Linked DNA regions of Homo sapiens: region 2 is linked to region 1. The links are contacts of gene promoters, found by promoter capture Hi-C in blood cells and fetal thymus (Javierre and others, 2016). All regions are on one chromosome and are shown on one strand. Each heading gives the region's core, a stretch centred on a gene start or on the middle of the fragment in contact. The rest is flanking DNA. Distances are from core to core; before and after follow the strand shown. Region 1 holds the start of MARCHF6 (membrane associated ring-CH-type finger 6). Region 2 holds the start of MIR4458 (microRNA 4458).

Region 1 (5,282 bases), core at 1,997-4,496:
GAAACTTTAGAGATCTTTAAAATCTAGCAAACAATTAGTATGAAACAGCCATGTCGGAACTAAGTATTACTACAAATGCATAACATTCTGAGCATCAGACTATCATATATGGTACCATCAGAGGCAAGCAATGTGCTATTTTTAAAAGGAAGGGAAGACTTACTATACGCACGGTTGATGTGTTTGTAACATTCTTAATCTCTTTGCTCAGAATATTAAAATATATTTTTAAAGGACAGAGAACCGGCCAGGAACGGTAGCTCACGCTCGTAATCCCAGCATTTTGGGAGGTTGAGGCGGACAGATCACCTGAGGTCAGGAGTTTGAGACCAGTCTGGCCAACATGGCGAAACCCCATCTCTACTAAAAACACAAAAATTAGCAGAGGGAGGTGGCGCGCTCCTGTAATCCCAGCTACTCAGGAGGCTGAGACAGGAGAATCGCTTGAACCTGGGAGGTGGAGGTTGCAGTGAGCAGAGATCATGCCACTGCACTTCAGCCTGGGCAACAGGGCAAGACTCCATCTCGGAAAATAAAATAAAATAAAATAAAATAAAATAAAATAAAATAAAATAAAATAAAATAAAATAAAATAAATAAAAAACAGAACCACAACAGTATAAGTGTTTTCAAAAGTAGGTGATACTGATTTTTTTTTAATTTAGTTTTATGTTTGGCCATACTTTGAATATCTCCTACCAAAAAATTTCTAAGCAGATTTAAAAAACCTAAGTCGCATTTTTTAAAGAAATAACCTATAATAACTGATTTCACAAATAGAACATTTTTTATTAGTTTTTTGGCATCTTTGCTATATCATTTTTAATCCTCTATAACCCTCCCTTTTCCTTTAAGTGTTATTTCAACTTAAATTTAATTGTAAAAATGTCAGAAGACTTCCAAACTGGAATTTTGCAAAAGCAGGCATGAGAATACGGCACTAAAATTCACTTGCATTTCATGACTAATAATTTCATAAAACAAAATAAAGCAAAATAAAGTTTCCACCAAATTATATAAATGATTCATCCTATAGAGGGAGTGACAAAAATAAATTTCAACATTGGACTTGTAGTATACACTCATAAATAAATAATCTAATTTAAGTGCGACTCTGACAGACATGAGTCTGAATCTTGCCTCTGCCATTTACTACCTGTATTATCCTGGACAAGTTACTTAATCATACTAACCATCAGTTTCCTCATCTGTAAAATGAAAATGCCGACTACCTAACGATGTGAGAGAATTAAATGAAATGTATATAAAGTGTTTAGTAAAGCACATACTACACGTTGAGTCTTCAGCACATGTTATTTTAACAGGCAACAGTGTTCAATAAATAAATGTTATGTATACCTTATCCTGATTATAATTTTACAAGAGAAAAAATATATTTAAGCACTAGAAGTACAGTGAAAATATTTCATGATTCCATACGTGCTTCGAGCGCAATTCCTGAATTACCACAGATTACTGTCACACCATAAAAGTATGCAAGTAGCAATGCCCAGGCCAAAAGAATGAGAATTGAATGTAATACGTCCGTACCTATCCTGTGATAAATACATGCCTTACTAGATTTACTCATTAAAACCTGAATCTAAAAGGATGTGAAACCTATGTAGATGGAAATTTACACGCAAGGACCACCTGTCAAAAAGAAATAGTTCGCAACCTTCAGCAGTTTCGCTTTACTATTTTTTCCAAAGGCGTCTCCAGTGGCGATTAGCTACACTCAGTGTATATAATAAACACACTGTGGCATAATGAAAGGGAAATTACTTGCAATCAGAATGCCTAGGTTCAAATCTGCCTCTTACTACCTGTGTAAAGCTTCGACAAGCTATTAAAATAACGAAGCCTACATTTCCACATCTATAAAAGATAATACCTACCTATTCCACAGGCTTTTTACGAAGATGGAACGCGAATGTACATCAAGTGCCACATGTTATAGTTGAGGTATTTATTAAAGGCAAGACTTCTTTAAAAAAAAATAAGTCGTTATCAACTCATTACATAGATAATATCAAACTTTTTTCACTCATTATTGCACTCCATGACGGCGTTTGATAATTCATTTTCGTTTAAAATCGCCAAAATCGCAACCCATAAGGTTGAAAGACGCTCATACCCCCATAAATATACCTAAAGTAGAAAAGCATTTGCACGATAACCGGAACATCAAAAAAAGCAAAATTTAGTAATTTCCTCTATAAACTCACCACTCATTTAAAAACACAGCTGGTTAAAAATAATCTACTACCTTCAGTGGGTAAGAAAATGCGTTTGAAGAGACATAAGGTGTGGACGTTTATATCTTAAGTATTCATTTTACAAGGGTCAGTTTGTTCAATGTAACCGTATCCAAAACACAAGCAATCGCAAAACAAAACAAACAGAACCCTGCTTATAGGTGTCAAGGATTTAAAACCAAATGGATCGCAACAAAAGAGCCTCCCCGTTTAGTAAACAGATTCTCGAGCGGCAGGCAAGCCGAGGACCAGGCTTTTCAACAGGGGTCAGCTCACTCCACTCGGCCGTCATCTGGCGGGGTATTTTTCGCGAAGTTTCAAAGTCAACAAAGAAGTTCTGTCGCGAGGGGGTAGGGCCTGGCGAGCAATAGGCAGAAGGACGTAAAGAAAGACAAAACCCAGTGGGGGAAGGGTGCGGAAAACGCCCCCGGACGGCAGCGACAGAGGCCCCCTTTTCTGGGCCAGCGCGCGACGGCGGGGACAAGGGAGGCCACGCCGGCCTGCAGTAGCCCCGAGGCCCCGACCCCGGCCCCGGCCCCTGCCCGGCAGGGTCCCCGCCCCCCTCGGCGGCGCGGGCGGGAAACGGCGGGGGGCGCGCAGAGGGTCACCTTCCGCTCCCCGGCCCAGAGGCCCAGCGGGTGGACAAACGGCCCAGGCGTCCGCCCCGCCGCGATCCAGCAGCCCACCTCGAGCGCCGCGGACCTGGCCGGGGTACGAACCCGGGCGCCGACGCAAGGGCTCGGGCGCCGCGCGTCGCCGACTTACCTTCCTCCGCGGTGTCCATCTTGTCTGGGGGGGCGGCGGTGACGCAGCCACGAGGCTCCCGCGGCCGGGCGGGGAAAGAGGGAGGGGAGAGGAGGAGGGAGCCGGGCCCGGGCAGGTGCGTACGCTCAGGTGCGAGAGAGGAAGCGAGAGGAAGGAGAGGGGAGAGGGAGAGGGAGAGAGGCTGACAGAAAGCGAGCGACACGGGAGGGGGAGGGGCGGGAACACCTAGGGGCGAGGCCTGGGCGGGGCGCCGAGGCGGAAGGGGCGGGAGCTCCCCAACGACAGGCGCTGTCACTTCCGGCGGCCGCGGCGTGCACTGTCGGTCGGCGGCTAAGGAGGGGAGGCACCTGCATCTGGGGCGCGGCGAATCCTCGCGTGCGCCAGGCCGCCTGGGGTAGTCGCCGAGACTGCGCCGGCCAGCGGGGCCGAAACCTAATCAGGAGCTGAGCTTTGATGGCGGCTTCTGGAGGGACAAAGAAGGCGCAGAGCGGTGGGAGGAGGCTGCGAGAACCTAGCTCCCGCCCCAGCCGACGTGCGAGACAAAGGCCCCGGCGCGGGGCTCTTCGGAAGGCCGGGAGGTTCCTGTGACAATGCGAGTCTGCGCCCCACGCTCCCGCACCGTGATGCCGAGGCCAAATGGCTAGAGTGGGCCCAGGCATCAGCATTTCTGTTTGGCAGCCGGGCAGTTGTGGTGCACGTTTTGAGGAACTACTAAAGCCTGCCTGTGATGAAAAAGGCAAAAGCTGACTTCACCAAAATTACTCCCAGGGAGACTTCTGCATTTGGCTGGAAGGACATTTGAGTAAACCGCTGAGGCTGGTGGTTGAAACATAATCCTCTAAGGGAGATCGGTTCCGATACCCTGAGTTAGGGACGCTTGCCTGGGCAGAGCTAAGGGGAGAATGATCAAAAGCCAAGCTCTGTCCCCGTCAGCACGTCACCCTCCCTCACTGTAATCCCTGACTGTTTTCTCTAAATGAAGAATTATTTAGAGAATATAAATTAGAAGGGCCGCCACGTCAGAATTGCCTGAGTGGGAGCAGTCTTTCCAGCCTCGAAAAATGTTTAAACAATATGCAGATGACCTAGCACAAATAAAGAATGCTAGCAACCGCTGTTATGTGTGAGCGGTGGAATTGGGAGGGCTCTTCCCCCAATCTTCATCAAACAGAGTAAGGTTTAGAATAAAAATAATGAAATACAGTCTTTCAAAAAGAGCAGCGCTTGACTAATGTTACTGATGTCACTCATGTTACTCAAGGGAGGAAAGAACTCAAACTCTACATAATAATACCCACTGATTTCAAGGGCTGGCACGGAGAATTAAGCAGACCGCCATTCTTTATATTTGTTTTTTTGTTGTTGTTTGCTTATGATTTTTTTCTTTCTTTTTTTTTTTTTTTTTTTGAGAAGGGGTCTCGCACTGTCACCCAGGCAGGAATGCAGTGGCGCGATAATGGCTCACTGCAATCTCACTATATTGACCAGTATGATTTTCAACTCCTGTCTTTAAGCGATCCTCACGCTTCGGCCTCCCAAAGTGCTGGGGTTACAGACATGTGCCACTATGCCCTGCCTAAATATGTTTATATATACTACCGCCAAAGAAACAATTTGAAGACGATCTTTCCCCAGCCCCTCTCCTTCTGATCCAACTCCAAGAGCTCACCCTCCCTGTAAGACCTGTAGCAGAGCACGTATTGGCCTGCTGATACTAGGGGCAAAGACCGGGCCGATCAGATGTTACATGGCATAAGGGCGAAGGATTCTGAAAGAAAGACTGAGACTTGCTGGAGGAAGTACTAGTAGTGCCAAGGGCAGGTATGTGACCCTCGGAGCTGCAGAGCCAGGTTAGGATGAAGGGAATGTGTGTGTATGGGGGGCGTGGAGGAAGCCTTCCTTTTGTATTTAGGTGCCTTCCCTTGTGATGTTCAAAGGAAAGTTAACCTGTCAACCAGTTTTCCCTTCTGCATAGTAATTCCTTCTGGAATTGCCCTAACCTTTTCGCATTCAGACTTTAGGCGTTAAATATAAGAGTAATAAACCAACATTTGTTGAGTCCCCACTGTGAGTCAGGCACAAGTTCTCACAACAGCCCTTTGAATACATGAATCAGTCACACCTCTCTTGGTTGCCATTGACAGGAACTCAACTGTTAGGCAGAAGGGAGGAATGTACTGTTGATATGGACAGACTCCAAGAAGGGGAGGGACTGCTGGGACTACTAGAACGAGAATGCCTCTGCCCCTATGGCTCAGC
Region 2 (5,274 bases), core at 2,386-4,885, 1.9 Mb after region 1:
GTTATGTCCCCCTTTTTCATCATGATGTCTATTTCTGCTCTTTTTCCTCAGTTTTTATTAGTCATTTTAATAACAGATTTAGGTTTATTATTTTTTAAAATTTTTCTATTCTGTCATTGCCTGCTTTTTTCTCATTTGTTTCCTTCTACTGGCTTTATTTCATTATTCTTATTTAGCTCTCTAACTTCAAACAGATTTTTAACTTTACTTTTCAATGTCTTTTTCTCTTTTTTTTTTTTTAATACAGGGTCTCACTTTATCTTCTAGGCTGGAGTGCAGTGGCAAGATCATGGCTCACTGCATGCTTGCTCGACCTCCTGGGCTCAAACAATCCTCCCACCTCAGCCTCCCAAGTAGCTGGGACTACATTACACGCCTGGCTAATTTTTGTACTTTCTGTAGAGACCAGATTTCGCCACGTTGCTTAGGTTAGACTCAACTCCTGGGCTCGAGTGATCTGCCCTCCTTGGCCTCCCAAAATGCTGGGATTACAGGTGTGAGCCACCATGCCCAGCCTCAATATGTCTTGAACTCAAATACCCCTAATAATCATGGCTTCTCCTTCTCCTTGATTCCTCTTACAACCACCATGTCAGGTTTTTGTGCCTACCACTCCACAAAAATAGCTCCTCATTCCCCATGACCTGAATGCTGTCAAATCCTATGGATACTTCTCAGTTCTCCTCCTACTTGACCTATCAACTGTAATAGACTCAGTTGCCCATAAGTTCTTCTTGAAACACTTTATTGTTCTCTAGTGTTTCATATTCTTGAGTTTCCTAACTGGCCATTCGTCTCAGTCTTAGTTGCTACTTCCTCCTCCTCCCAATTTCTCAACCAAAATCCTCCTCCAGCATTCATTTCACCACTCCCTTCAGTATACAACAGAAATATAAACATGTAATGATTGGTGATAATCATGTTCTTGATTCATTTGTGTTTAAAACAACTGAAAAGGAAGAATAAGTTTTAAAACTTTTTATTCAGATTCAGAATATTTTATATTTCAACTAAATTTTAAACTTTCTAAATGAAAGTTTACAACTTGAAGTTCACACTGCTGTATTGCTTTAAAACTTAAAAGCAAATAAACTTTGTCAACTAAAATCAAAGTAACCAATATCTGGCCTGCCTGTCTCTAAGATGGCCATGCTGTCACCGCATTCATTATTCACAGTCAGTGACCCTTAGACCAATGCTTACACAAGATTTCTTTCAAATATGACACTGTGGAGATGGCCACAGGAGGTACTACAAAAACCAAGTGCTCGATTACCACTTAACATGTTCAGCTTGAAATGACTGCTACCTTTGCCTTCAATTCCTTCCCACACACCCAGGTATACAAATATCTTTTATACCAAGAGTCCTTGTGAAAGTAAATAGAGGGAACTCCCAGGGATAAGGGAGGGCAAAAAACAGGAAGCACTTGAAGCCAAAATCTGGAGCAACTTTTAAGAAGGAAGAGACGTCCGTCCTATTTTCATATCTCTGCATGGATCTCCCATGGAGAACTTGAGTTAAATGTAATGATTACACGTGGCAGAAAGACAACTCTCTAGCACAGTGTTTCTTTCACATAGGCTGCTACATTGATTCCATAAGCTCAACAATTTTAATAAAAAATATTTCTGCTAAATACTTTATATTCATCATCATAAAAAATGCACAGCCATTTGAAAAAAGGGCAATTACCCTAAATGAATATTGCCAAAGCACAGATCAACTTTATATAGGATTTCTTTCCTTGTTTCTGAAAAATCGCAAACAGAACTGGCAGACTTTATTTAACAAACATTGATTTTGTCCAGGCATGGAGTTTAAATTTTAGTGCATGTGCTGGAGGCAGGGAGAAGTGATGCGAGAAAGTAAAGCAACGACAGGTCATGCGGGGACCAGTGCTACAAAGAAACTAAAGCCAGGGGAAGGGTTGGGGAGGCATGGAGTGGGGTAGGACTACTAAATTTAGACAGAATGGGGTGCTAGAAAAGGTTGACTATGCTGTGGTAACAAATTAGCCCCTGAACCCCAGCGGTGTAGCATAAGTTTATCTCTTACCCACATTCTACGTCCACCACAGGTCACCAGTGGCTGTGCTCTAGTCATTCAGGGACACAGCTGGATGGAGGCTGCACCATCTGAGACACGGGGCACCTCCCTAGTCCTGCCAGAGCCGCAGTAGCAGTGGACCAGAGCTGGAAAGTCACACATGGAGCCTTAAAGTCTTTAAGCAATAAGCCACAACTAGTACCATGGCCCCACCTACTGCAAGAGGGCTGAGAAATGGGAGGAGTTCATAGCATGAGCAATCAATAACTGTCACTGATATCCAGGGAAGTCGTCTCTGACACAGGGAAATCTAAGCAAAGACCAACTAAAGAAAGAAGCTACACAGAAAGTTGGAGACAGGATGATGTCATTTATGATTCCAAGAAATATTCTGTTTGTCTGCCATTTGTTTCCAGTGAACAACCACATCAAATCTTTAATTTAGATATTTTGATAATTAAATGCATTAAAAATCTGTCTCTATTTCTATGCTTAGTTCAAGTAATAGCTTACCTCAGTGATTTTAACAGTCTTACATACCATATAGTATCACTGCCCTTACATTACATCCTTCAATAATTATCCCCTCCCGAGTAAAATCATAATACAAGGGCTGACAAACTCATTCTTGATTGACACACATCTCGACTCCTCACTCATTTCTTCTCCACATATTATTATTTTCTCATTACTTACCTAAAATTTAACCTTATAGATAATGAAAAGGGTTCTGAACATTAAGAAATAATAGAATAGTTATAAATGGAGGAAAAAGTTTGAATAAAAAAGTTTCTTAAAAGGATAGTGTCACTTGCAAAAATAGCTCTTTGAAATACAGGTTCCTATAAACATTTTACACGCATTAAGATATTACTCTTACACATACTGGTAACACAGACACTATACATATTTGTCTCCATTTTAGGAAGAAATGAAGCAAGGCTATTTTTAATAATAAACTTAGAAACAATTCATAACCCCTAGTATTTGCATTAACCTGCAAATACTAGGCAGCACACCACAGCAGAGTGTAACTAAAACCTAAAATAGTGTTTCACTTTCTTCCACACCTACCTCTGTGCGCTCATGCAAGTGTTTTTATTTTGCTTTGCATTAGATGCTTCTGTAATACAGGCATCTGATTCACCCCACATAAAGCTGTTGTAAGTAATCAATGTGAGAAAGTCTACTTATTGTTAAGCATATTTGTATATTTTTTACTAGTTATTTCATACTTGCCCTGAAAGAATACACATTCAAAAAGCTTGAAATTAGGCAATGTCAGTCTCATCAAACAAAACCAGCATTGGAAGCGAATATTAACAAATATCAGAATGAAATTACAAAATATACATCTCCAGCCTCATAAAACATGAATTTTATAAGCACTTTCATAAACATAAGAAAAATAGCTTTGACAATAACTATTTGAAAACATTATTATTAATAATCTTGTATACTGTACATGTGCACTTAAATGTAATAGCACCAACATTCATTATATTATGAAGGGGATACTTTATAAGAATTATAAATTATTTTTACATGATTAAATAATTTTGGCAGAGTAAGTCCGCAGGACTTAAATAACCAGTCAGCCTTAGTATCTACATCTGGACCAGGAAGCCTTTGTGTTACAGACACAGATTCCCTGTGAAGTTCTCCAGGGTGTAAAGAAGGCCCCAGGGAGGTGCCGACGGGATGTGAGGGCTGCCTTTCAGCTCAGGCGAGCCTGCAAGCAACAGGGCAGTTTGGGAAGGGTCACAGGCACAGGAAGGGAGCAGTGGGCAACCATTGATTACATCAAACCAGGATGGTTTCTTCTTTTTAAAGAAACTTTTGTTGAGTGTTTACCCACCCCCATCCACACAAATATGCTCTCTAGGAAATGTGAAAGTATAAGCTTCAGAAAAATGTTTTTCTCATCCTTTAATTTCTGGTTTTATGATCAAATGTTCCGAAGACACTGCTTCTTTTTGCTCAAAATAGTTGACATTGTCATTGCTTCTAGTTTTTCAGCTCCTACTATGCTTACTATGTCCATGGGTGCCATTGACGTCTTTGGCTATTTATCATCTCTAGAAAAGAAAAAAAAACATTAAAATTTTAGGATGTAGGATTCACAATAAATCTCTTACCAAATCCTCCTTAAATCCCTAAACTCTCTACCTGGCTCTGACTCCAGGATCACCCTTTCAGTTCTTTCCATGTTTTTCTTCGGAAAATGTAGTTTCCTAACCTTTCTACCCACCCTTCTCGTCTACTCTTAGGTCTGCAGCCACAGTGATAGTTCTAAGTTGCAAACCTGATCATGTCCTTCCAGTACTTAGTCTTTCAAAAATCTTCCTACTTCCCGCAGAGTGAAGCCTGAACTCTTTAATAGGCATCTAAGGACTTGGACCCGGATCCTGTTAACCTGTTAATTCATCTTTGCCTCTAACTCCCTCCCTTCATCTTTCAAGGCACAGCGCAGGACTTAACTCATTGTGAAAGTACTAAGCCTTGATGTATCTTTAGGAAAAACACACGTATACACACACACGCATGCAAAGAGAGGAAGCATAGCTTAGTGGTTAACCTACATAGACTGCAACTTGCTTAAATAATCCAGTATTTATCTATGTTTTAATAAAATTGTTTTAATAAAAATATATGAAATTCATCTATCTTTTCTCTGGAATGCTTTTGCCTGTTCAAAGATTATACAATGCTCCCGTATGTTACAGAGGAAGCCGTCCCTTCATTTATAAAAGACAGTTAACACATAGCACAAAAACTCTAGAGTAGGATGGATCCGCAACTACTGTACTGGAAATATGCTAAATTAGGGTTCTGATTAGAGTTAATGGAATTAACTTGGGTGAGAGAAAATACTCACCATTAATCTAGGGGTAACAGAGGAGTTAAACTCCAATTCAGAAACAGAGCAGTTCAAAATCAGAATCTAGAGTCAGCCTACATGGGCTTGATCTGGGAATGTGCCCTTTATTAGACGTGTAACCTTGGGCTGCTGCTTGACTGAATAGGTCTTCGATTCCTCATGGAATGAATATAATAAGATCTGATGAATGCAATTAGACAGTGCCTGAAACAGTAGTCTTAAGTAGGTATTTTTGTTGTCCCACTTTTTGAGAAACAAAACCAAAGTCAATTCAATTAAAACTGCAGGTTTCTTGATTTCATCCTAATACTTTGCAAATTAATCACAGAACCCAAGTGAAATTG

What was found. Contacts are between HindIII fragments. The CHiCAGO score rates a contact against its expected background, and 5 or more counts as called.
Region 2: a fragment that was not itself captured here is called in contact with the fragment with the promoter of MARCHF6 in region 1 in 2 of 17 cell types (naive CD4 T cells and activated CD4 T cells); the score reaches 5.3 in naive CD4 T cells.

The regions. Positions count from the first base shown.
Region 1 is chr5:10,351,659-10,356,940 of GRCh38, reverse strand. MARCHF6 (membrane associated ring-CH-type finger 6) reads right to left here and starts at 3,246. Exons shown (of 26, transcript NM_005885.4): 1 at 3,024-3,246. The coding sequence starts at 3,042. It overlaps MARCHF6-DT (MARCHF6 divergent transcript), which reads left to right and starts at 2,884. Exons shown (of 3, transcript NR_183261.1): 1 at 2,884-2,969; 2 at 5,168-5,282. RefSeq lists enhancers at 2,010-2,581, 3,428-3,687 and silencers at 2,638-3,107, 3,148-3,287. The HindIII fragment of the contact is 4,878 bases long and covers 1,839-5,282 here.
Region 2 is chr5:8,458,786-8,464,059 of GRCh38, reverse strand. MIR4458HG (MIR4458 host gene) reads right to left here. Exons shown (of 2, transcript NR_039989.1): 2 at 964-4,127. MIR4458 (microRNA 4458) reads right to left here and starts at 3,135; the gene lies at 3,061-3,135. The HindIII fragment of the contact is 639 bases long and covers 3,316-3,954 here.